Regions from separate parts of the Homo sapiens genome. Here region 2 is linked to region 1. Evidence: promoter capture Hi-C in 16 types of primary human blood cells and fetal thymus (Javierre and others, 2016). All regions are on one chromosome and are shown on one strand. Each heading gives the region's core, a stretch centred on a gene start or on the middle of the fragment in contact. The rest is flanking DNA. Distances are from core to core; before and after follow the strand shown.

The links. The method cuts DNA at HindIII sites, captures the fragments that hold promoters and counts their contacts. A CHiCAGO score of 5 or more calls a contact.
Region 2: a contact is called between a fragment that was not itself captured here and the fragment with the promoter of UBE2R2 in region 1, in 5 of 17 cell types (monocytes, M2 macrophages, total B cells and 2 more). The highest score is 8.1, in monocytes.

The regions. Positions count from the first base shown.
Region 1 is chr9:33,814,727-33,819,047 of GRCh38, forward strand. It overlaps UBE2R2 (ubiquitin conjugating enzyme E2 R2), which reads left to right and starts at 2,434. Exons shown (of 5, transcript NM_017811.4): 1 at 2,434-3,208. The coding sequence starts at 3,032. UBE2R2-AS1 (UBE2R2 antisense RNA 1) reads right to left here and starts at 4,142. Exons shown (of 5, transcript NR_170204.1): 1 at 3,901-4,142. RefSeq lists an enhancer at 1,944-2,033 and silencers at 2,324-2,423, 2,604-2,813, 2,884-3,053. The HindIII fragment of the contact is 11,190 bases long and covers 1-4,321 here.
Region 2 is chr9:33,857,769-33,862,089 of GRCh38, forward strand. All of the region lies in intron 1 of UBE2R2 (ubiquitin conjugating enzyme E2 R2), which reads left to right. Among named protein-coding and RNA genes, the nearest start is that of UBE2R2-AS1, 41 kb to the left of the region's middle. The HindIII fragment of the contact is 4,579 bases long and covers 121-4,321 here.

The DNA of each region.
Region 1 (4,321 bases), core at 1,184-3,683:
GGGGAGCTCTAATTCCAGTAGAGTTCGGTCTCAAGACCTGGACAGTAGCGTTGGCGGCTAGAAAAGGATGTTTTAAAACACTGAGACCTCGTCTTTTACAGGAAAAAAAAGGCCAAAAAAAAAGGAGGGGGGGCTGCTTAAGTGTGGATTGTGTAGAGTGACTCCATTCCAAAGAGTACAGTATAGAAAAGGGGAGGAAGGGGCAGAGTAACTTTACAGTAGAAAGACTTGACACACTTCCTCAGCCAGACAATCAAGGTCAACATCAACATTGCTAAGTCATGTTGCTATTTGTGCCCTTAATATGATGTGATGAAATGGCATTTCACCTCTGTGATCTTACCCTCAAAAACTCATAATCCCAGTCTAATCATGAGAAAAGCATCACAATCCCAATTGAGGGACAGTCTACAAAATACTTGACCAGTATTCTTCAAAACTGTTAAGGTCATCAGAACAAAGTCTAAGAAACTGCCACAGTCAAGAGGAATCTACAGAAACAGGAAAACTGAATGTAGTCTGGTATCCTGGATGAGATCCTGGAACAGCAAAAGGTCAGTAGGTAAAAATTAGGGAAGTATGAGCTTCAGTCAACAGTGATGTATCAATATTAGCTCATTAATTGTAATACATGTACTCTACTAATGTAATATGTTAATAAAAGGGGGAACTGGGCGCCAGGTGTAGGGGAACTTGACTATCTTTTCAATTTTTCTATAAATCTAAAACTGTCCTTGGCTGGGCACAGTGGCTCACGCCAGTAATCCCAGCACTTTGGGAGGCTGAGGTGGACGGATCACCTGAGGTCAAGGGTTGGAGACCAGCCTCGCCAACATGGTGAAATCCCGTCTCTACTAAAAATACAAAAATTAGCTGGGCATGGCTGTGCACACCTGTGGTCCTGCTACTTGGGAGACTGAGGTTAGAGGATGGCTTAAGCCCAGGAGGTTACTGCTAGAGTGAGCTATAATCACTCTACTGTACTCCAGCCTGGGCAACAGAGTAAGACCCTGTCTCAATAAAAGGGGTGGGTAGTGGTGGTATCCAGAATACAGCTATGCCTTAAAGTTTTTTTCTTTCAAGTTTCTATGAATCATTAACCATGTGCCAGTCACTACGCTAAATGCTGTACATACATTTAATCATTACAATTGCTTGTGTTGGGTATAATTAATCCCCTTTTACAGAAGCTGATTAAACAGCCGGGTGTGGAGGCATGCACCTGTAGTCCTAGCTACTTGGGAGGCTGAGGTGGGAGAATCGCTTGAACCTGGGAGGCGGAGGTTGCAGTGGGCCATGATCGCGCCACTGTGCTACAGCCTGGGTGACAGAGCAAGACCCTGTCTCAAACAAAACAAAACCAAAAAACAAAAAACTGATGATACAGGGAGAAGTAATGGAACTAGGGTTGGAACCAAGATCTGTCTAGTTCCGAAACTGTGTGTGTAGAACTCTCACAATATTCTGGCTTTTCTAGGAAATGTTTTTTAGGCAGTTATCCTAGGACATGCCTTCCTAGGAGAAAGGAGTACTGTATTCTGAACCACGGGGGGACCAAAGACTGTCCCCACATCTCACTTCGGTTATGATTATCTCGAAAGTCCCTCAGTTCCAGGGTGGACATTCAAGCCACAAGCACCTATAGGGAACTTTGACCCCTAAGTTCAACCACAGTAGTTTATTTTACAAATGGCGAAGGCGAAGGGCAGCCTGAGCACTTGCCCCAAATCACAATGAGAAGGGCTAGAGACCCAGTTTGTTATTGTCTTTTTCCTCACAACTTCCTCTTTGTAGTTAAGAAGGGAAGCAGAAGCTGACCTTTTTGTCTCACCCCGTTTCTCACGTGGAACTGCCGCACCCAGGGTGAGTAACGTGCCAAAGGGCACACTTGCCTGTGGGCTGGCCTGCGGGAAGGTCTGTTCCCACCGAAAAGACCCACATTGTCAGCACATCCTAATCAAGTAGCTACTAAGTGGAGGGACCGCAGACTGGGTGTCACGGGGAGGGGCCTGCAGCGACCAGGCCCGTCCCAGGATGGCTGCGGAGGCCCCTGGATCCACAGTGGGGAGGGCCCCGAGAGCCGGGAGACCTGGGTTCCCTTCCCGGGCACGCCTTTGGAACTGCGGCGTCCAGCCGCACAACCGTCACTCTGGGGCCACGGCAATCCCTGCGCCCGCCCTTGGTCCCCGCTGCTTCTGGGATCTTTATGGGCGGGGGACACGCGCCAGCGTCACAAAGCGCCGCGACCGCGCGGGAGACCGAGAGGAGGCGTGGAAACGGGAGGAGGAGGAGGTGGTAGTGGAGGAGAGCCAGGCACGGTGGGGGGAGGGGAGGGAGGGGCACGCGCACGCGCGTCGGGCCGCCAGCCGCTGAGAGCCGCCCAGCACCCGGCGTGCGCCCCTCCTCCCTCTCTCCCTCCCTCCCTCCCTCCCTGCTTCTCGGCTCCGTTGCTCCCGCGGCGCGAGGCGCTCTCGCTCTCCTCCTCCTCCGCCGTCGCCCCTCCCCCCGCGCAGCCCCCGCCGCCACCGCCGCGAGACCCCCGCACGCCGCTCTCCCCCCACCCTCTCCTGCCCCGCGCGCCCTCCGGCCCCTGCGGCCCCCGAAGAGAACGAGAGGGCGAGCGAGCGCGGCGTTCCCGGGCCGGCCCGGCCCCCTCCCTTCACCATCGCCGGCCCTCCGCCGCCTTCCTCCGCTTCCACCTCCTCTCCCCCCCCCCAAGTTGAGGCCCCCTCCGGGGGGGGGAGGCCCGGGACCGGGACCCGTAGCGAATTCTCCTAACTCCCTCGACCTCTCCTCTCGCCCGGCCCGAGTGTGAGGAGAAGGGCCCGGCCCGGCCTGCGTCGTGTGTGAGGAGGACCCCGGGCGGGCCCACGGGCCGTGTGGGGCCTGGTCTGGCCCGCCGGGTGTGTGAAGACCGGGGCCCGGTGCTGCCCGGCCGGAGGGCGAGCGGAGGGGAGGGGCCTGGTCCGGCCCGGCCGGTGCGTGAGGACTGGGGCCCGGGCCCGGCGCCGCCGCCGCCGCCGCCGCCGCGATGGCCCAGCAGCAGATGACCAGCTCGCAGAAGGCCCTGATGCTCGAGCTGAAATCCCTGCAGGAGGAACCGGTGGAGGGCTTCCGGATCACCCTGGTGGACGAGTCCGACCTCTACAACTGGGAGGTGGCCATCTTCGGACCCCCCAACACCCTCTACGAAGGCGGCTACTTCAAGGTACCCTCACCCTCCTCCCGGACCCTGCTTCCGCGGCCGAGGCCTCCGGCTCCCCGCCGCTTTCTGCAGTTCCTGGGACCAGGAGTATGAGCACGGGCGAGTGGAGGGGGCTTCTCACCCGTGCAGCCCCCTCCCCCATCCCTGGAGGCAGGAAGGCCTTGCTCGCCGAGTGCCTTTTCTTTGTCATGGGGGCGGGGGCTCGGGCGGGGGCGGGAGGGCAGGCTGCACCGGGAAATCGGAGAGCCTCTCTGGTTAGGGTAGTGTCTACGGGCGGAGGAGGCCGCCTTTGTTTCCCCCGCTGAGGGTGGGTGGAAAGAGCGGTGGTCTATCTGTGCTTTTTCGTTCTCCGGTCGGAACCCCTCCCTGCGCAGGCTGGAACTGCCCCAGAGGGCAGGGTGACCTGCACCGACTGGATTGGACTTTTCTTTTTTGGGGGGTGGGGGTGGGGGTGGGGTGGGGGAGGGGCACCAGCTTGTCATTTCAGAAGCTGCCGAGTGCCCTGACATTTTGAGGATTTGTTGGGCATCTTGGGTAGTGGTAGTGCCAACTTTGCATTCCAATGGGTGGTGGTGAAGAATGGGACCCTAGGGGTGGTAAAAAAAAAAAAAAAAAAAAAAAGGGTGCCCGCGTCGTCTTGTCATTATCCATTTGGGGGAACTTTAACCCTCTTTCCGTTCACATTCTCTGCTTACCTCAGTCACTGGTTCTTTCAAAATGCCCTTTGTCCTCACCATGCCACCAAGTTTGCCAACCTTTTTTTCTACAGGTAGAAGTATCCACAAAGGGTGGAACGAGTCATGTAGGGAGACTGATAGCTTCCTACTTTCAGAGACAAAATTGAAACCTGCTCAAGTGGTTAACTCTAGCTAAAGGGGTGGTCTCACAGATGACAAGTATCATCTGAGGCGAGATCGTTTCTCTGGGTGGGATGTATGGTTCCTTAGCGACCACAGACATTGTTTCTGTTGTTTTATATGGTCTTAGAACAGTGGTTATCATTCCAGAATCTAATGATTTTTTTTTAACTCCAAGGTAGTTAACTTGGAGATAATGAGTGTTTGTTTTGTTTTGTTTTTACTTGAGTGTTTTTGCAGGGAGGAATCACAGATTGAA
Region 2 (4,321 bases), core at 1,160-3,659, 43 kb after region 1:
TGCTTTTAAGTATATAGAAATTGACAGATTGTTGAACGGCATGTGAACTGTTTTGCCTATAGTTCTTTGAGAGTTTATTGTTCATTTGTCCTTTTTTCCCCCTATTTCTTTTTTCAGCTAAGCTTCTTAAGATGGAAGTTGTTCCTTAATAATGGCTAAAGCCCTATGGGAATATGTTCTTTCATTTATTACAATAAGTTAGAAAGTCCTTATTACTGTAAGGCCAAGATGCTAACTTTATGAGGCACCAGTTTCTCCTAATGGAGAGTTTTTTCCCCCACCTCACAGAATAATCGCATATAATAAAAGCTAATTTACCCACTCCTGAAGGTAAAATACTTACTCACTTTCACATATCTCTATATAGTACATTACTGGATGATGTAAATAACAATTCTCTTTTGTTGTATCCTGAAGTACCCTAGAATCTTCTCAGGAAGAGTAAGTTAGATTCCGAAAGGTAGCTTGCCATTATCAAAAGATAGTACTCCATACTCTACTGTCTCAGGAGAGACAGGAGACACCTTCTGTCCCGTCTTTACATTCTGATCAGAAATTAAAGAAAATAGGAAGGTAGAGAACAATAAGTGTATTTTGTTAAGCACTTGGTTCTTTGAATATTTGTAATCTATAATAGAGTATAGATGTTAATTTTTTTTTTCCTCAGACGGTGTCTCACTTTGTCAGCCATGCTGGAATGCAGTGGCATGATCTTGGCTAGCCACAGCTACGACCTCCCAGGCTCAAGCAGTCTTCCTGTCTCAACCCACTAAGTAGCTGGGATGCACCACCACACCTGGCTTTTTGTATTTTGCTAGAGATAGGGTTTTGCCATGTTGCCCAGGCTGGTCTTGAACTCCTGATAGAGCTCAAGCACTCCACCCACCCCAGCCTCCCAGGGTTCTGGGATTACAGGCATGAGTCACCGTTGCCAGGCCAATATTAAATATTTTAATTAGAGTCAGTGCTAAATCATTGCATTCTACTCTAGGACTATGCCAGGTAATAGTGTATTCTCTTTACATTTCAGTTTATGGAGGAGTTTGTTTTGTTTTGTTTTGTTTTGTTTTGTTTGAGATGGAGCCTCACTCTGTTGCCCAGGGTGGAGTGCAGTGGCGCAATCTCAGCTCACTGCAACTTCTGCTCCCCTGGGTTCAAGCAGTTCTCCTGCCTCAGCCTCCCAAGTAGCTGGGATTACAGGTGCCTGCCACCACACCCGGCTAATTTTTGTATTTTTAGTAGAGACAGGGTTTCACCATGTTGGCCAGGCTGGTCTTGAACTCCTGACCTCATGATCCACCCACCTTGGCCACCCAAAGTGCTGGGATTACAGACATGAGCCACCATGTCCGGCCGGAAGAGTTCATTTTAATATTAAAAAATATATGCTATGAATTGTGGTTTCTGAGCAGTAATGCATATACTTTGAAATCATTAAACCTTTATAAAATTTTTGTTTTCAAAATGTAATTGTTACTATACTCTGTGTATTTTATCTTTGATAGATTAAAAATACTCTGATATCTGCTCAAAGCTGACATATTCAGAAATTTATGAAAACTAAGCTAAGCTGGGAAGCATAGTTTATATTGAAATTTGCTTAGGCTCATTGCCCAAGTTTAGTTTGGAATCCCTAACCTGCCTGATAGTTTTAGATCCTTGAGAATATCCCTGTTTTAACATAGTAGGTCATATTTTCAAAATGCCTACAAGAATGGTTTATGTAGAGTATTAAAATCTTAAGACTGGGATGGACTCTGAGATACTATTTTTCATTACATCTTTATTTTGGAAAACTTACTAGAACTAGTATTTCCCCCCTAAATAGCTGAAAATTTTTACAGAAGCATTGTTGTGACGTTAGGAGCCTTGAGACTTTAAATTTCTTTGTTTTGTTTTTCAGAATAATTTTGGATTCAAGAAAATATGATTTGGTTATTTAAATGTAGGTTTAATGTTTAACATACAGTCCTTGTGGTTATCTAAGCCTTTTGTGTGTGTGTGTGTGTGTGTGTGTGTGTGTGTGTGTGTGAGAGAGAGAGAGAGAGAGAGAGACAGGATCTCTCTCTATGACCAGGCTGGAGTGCAGTGGCAGTGGTGCAATCAGGGCTCACTACAGCTTCAACCTCCTGGGCTCAAGCAATCTTTCTACCTCACCTTCCCAAGTAGCTGAGACCACAGGCATGAACCACCATGTCCAGCTAATTTTTAAAATTTTTATAAAGACAAGGTCTCCCTGTGTTGCCCGGATTGGTCTTGAACTCCTGGCCTCAAGCAGTTCTCCTGCCTTGGCCTCCCAATGTGCTGAGATTACAGGTGTGAGCCACCTTGCCTGCCCTTTTTTTTTTTTTAAAAAAATAGCATTTTAGGAGGGCACGTTTCTCAAGTAATTATGTAAAAGGAAGTTCTTTTGATTGGGAAGAAAACCTTCCTGACAGGCAAAATATTGATACACAAGCCTCTTTTCCTCCTGACATTTTAGCCTTTTGTGTAAGTTTATGTTTTTATTACCATCCCCTTTCCTCTGATTCCTAGTTGCTTTCCCCTGACATTTTCTGTCATTAATTAGGTTATAAGTGGCAGATACATTTTTGGAAGAGACTCCAGCATCCTGTGGTAGTGACCTGTTACTACGCCCTACCACTCTTTGGCTGTGTAAAAACATTGCTGTCAATACCTTTTCCTTTGTTCATTCTTTGAATTCTTGTGTGCTTGAAATCAGAATTTTCACAGATTCATGGTTGTATGACATCAGATTTTCATTTTTTGTTTGACTTTATTTGTTTTATTTGTTTGAATTTTCTTCTTTCTAGGGGTGGTGTGGTAAAATAGAATATGAGTTAACTCAAGGCCTGGCATGTTGGTTCACACCTGTAATCCCACCAATTTTGGGAGGCTGAGGCAGGAAGATCACTTGAGTATAGGAGTTTGAAGCCAGCCTGGGCAACATAGTGAGATCCCATCTCTACAAAAAAATTAAATAAATATTGTGGGTGTGGTGGCCTGTAGCCCTAGCTACTTGGAAGGCTGAGGTGGGATGATCTCTTGAGCCCAGGAGTTTAAGGCTGCAGTGAACTATGATCATGCCACTGTACTCCAGACTAGGTGACAGACTGAGACACCCCACCCTCCCCACCCCCTCCCCACAATCGTTAACCCTGTGTTAAGTTTTTTTTTGTTTGTTTGTTTGTTTTTTGTTTTTTTTTTTGAGACGGAGTCTCGCTCTGTCCCCCAGGCTGGAGTGCAGTGGCGCGATCTCGGCTCACTGCAAGCTCCGCCTCCTGGGTTCACGCCATTCTCCTGCCTCAGCCTCCAGAGTACCTGGGACTACAGGCGCCCGCCACCACGCCCGGCCAATTTTTTCTATTTTTTTAGTAGATAGGGGGTTTCACTGTGTTAGCCAGGATGGTCTCGATCTCCTGACCTCATGATCCGCCCGCCTCGGCCTCCCAAAGTGCTGGGATTACAGGCGTGAGCCACTGCGCCTGGCCAACCTTGTGTTAAGTTTTAAAAAGCAGGCCGGGGTTGGTGGCTCATGCCTCTAATCACAGCACTTTGGGAGGCCGAGGCGGGCAGATTGCCCGAGGTCAGGAGTTTGAGACTAGCCTGGCCGACATCTCTACAAACCCCATCTCTACAAAAAATAGAAAATACAAAAATACAAAAGTTAGCCACGCATAGCCTATAATCCCAGCTACTTATGAGGCTGAGGCACACGAATCTCTTGAACCTGGGAGGTGGAGGTTGCAGTAGGTGGAGGTTGCAGTGAGCTGAGATCATGCCACTGCACTCTAGCCTAGGCGACAGAGTGAGACCCTGTCTCAAAAAAAAAAGTTTGAACAAGCTAGTCTTCATTAATTAGATAATGGGAAACAACAGTATCTGACAGTCTTCTGCAATTTTAATTTTAAAGGGTTTATTTTGTGTACTTTTTCAAAAGCAGTAACATATTTAAGGTAAACTTGAATGTTTTTTGATGGAGTAAAATATGGATTGATGAAAGTGTTTTAAATCTTTTCAGTCTGTTGTTTCTTTTCCAAATGACTGTCCCCAGAGATACCATTTGTTGATCCACTTTCTTTTTTTTTTTTTTTTTTTTTTTTAAGACGGAGTCTCACACTGTCGCCCGGGCTGGAGTGCAGTGGCACGATCTTGGCTCAGTGCAACCTCTGCCTTCCAGGTTCAAGTGATTCTCCTGCCTCAGCCTCCCATGTAGCTGGGATTATAGGCGCCTGCCACCATGCCTGACTAGTTTTTTTTATTTTTAGTAGAGACAGGGTTTCACTATGTTGGCCAGGCTGATCTCGAACGCCTGACCTCA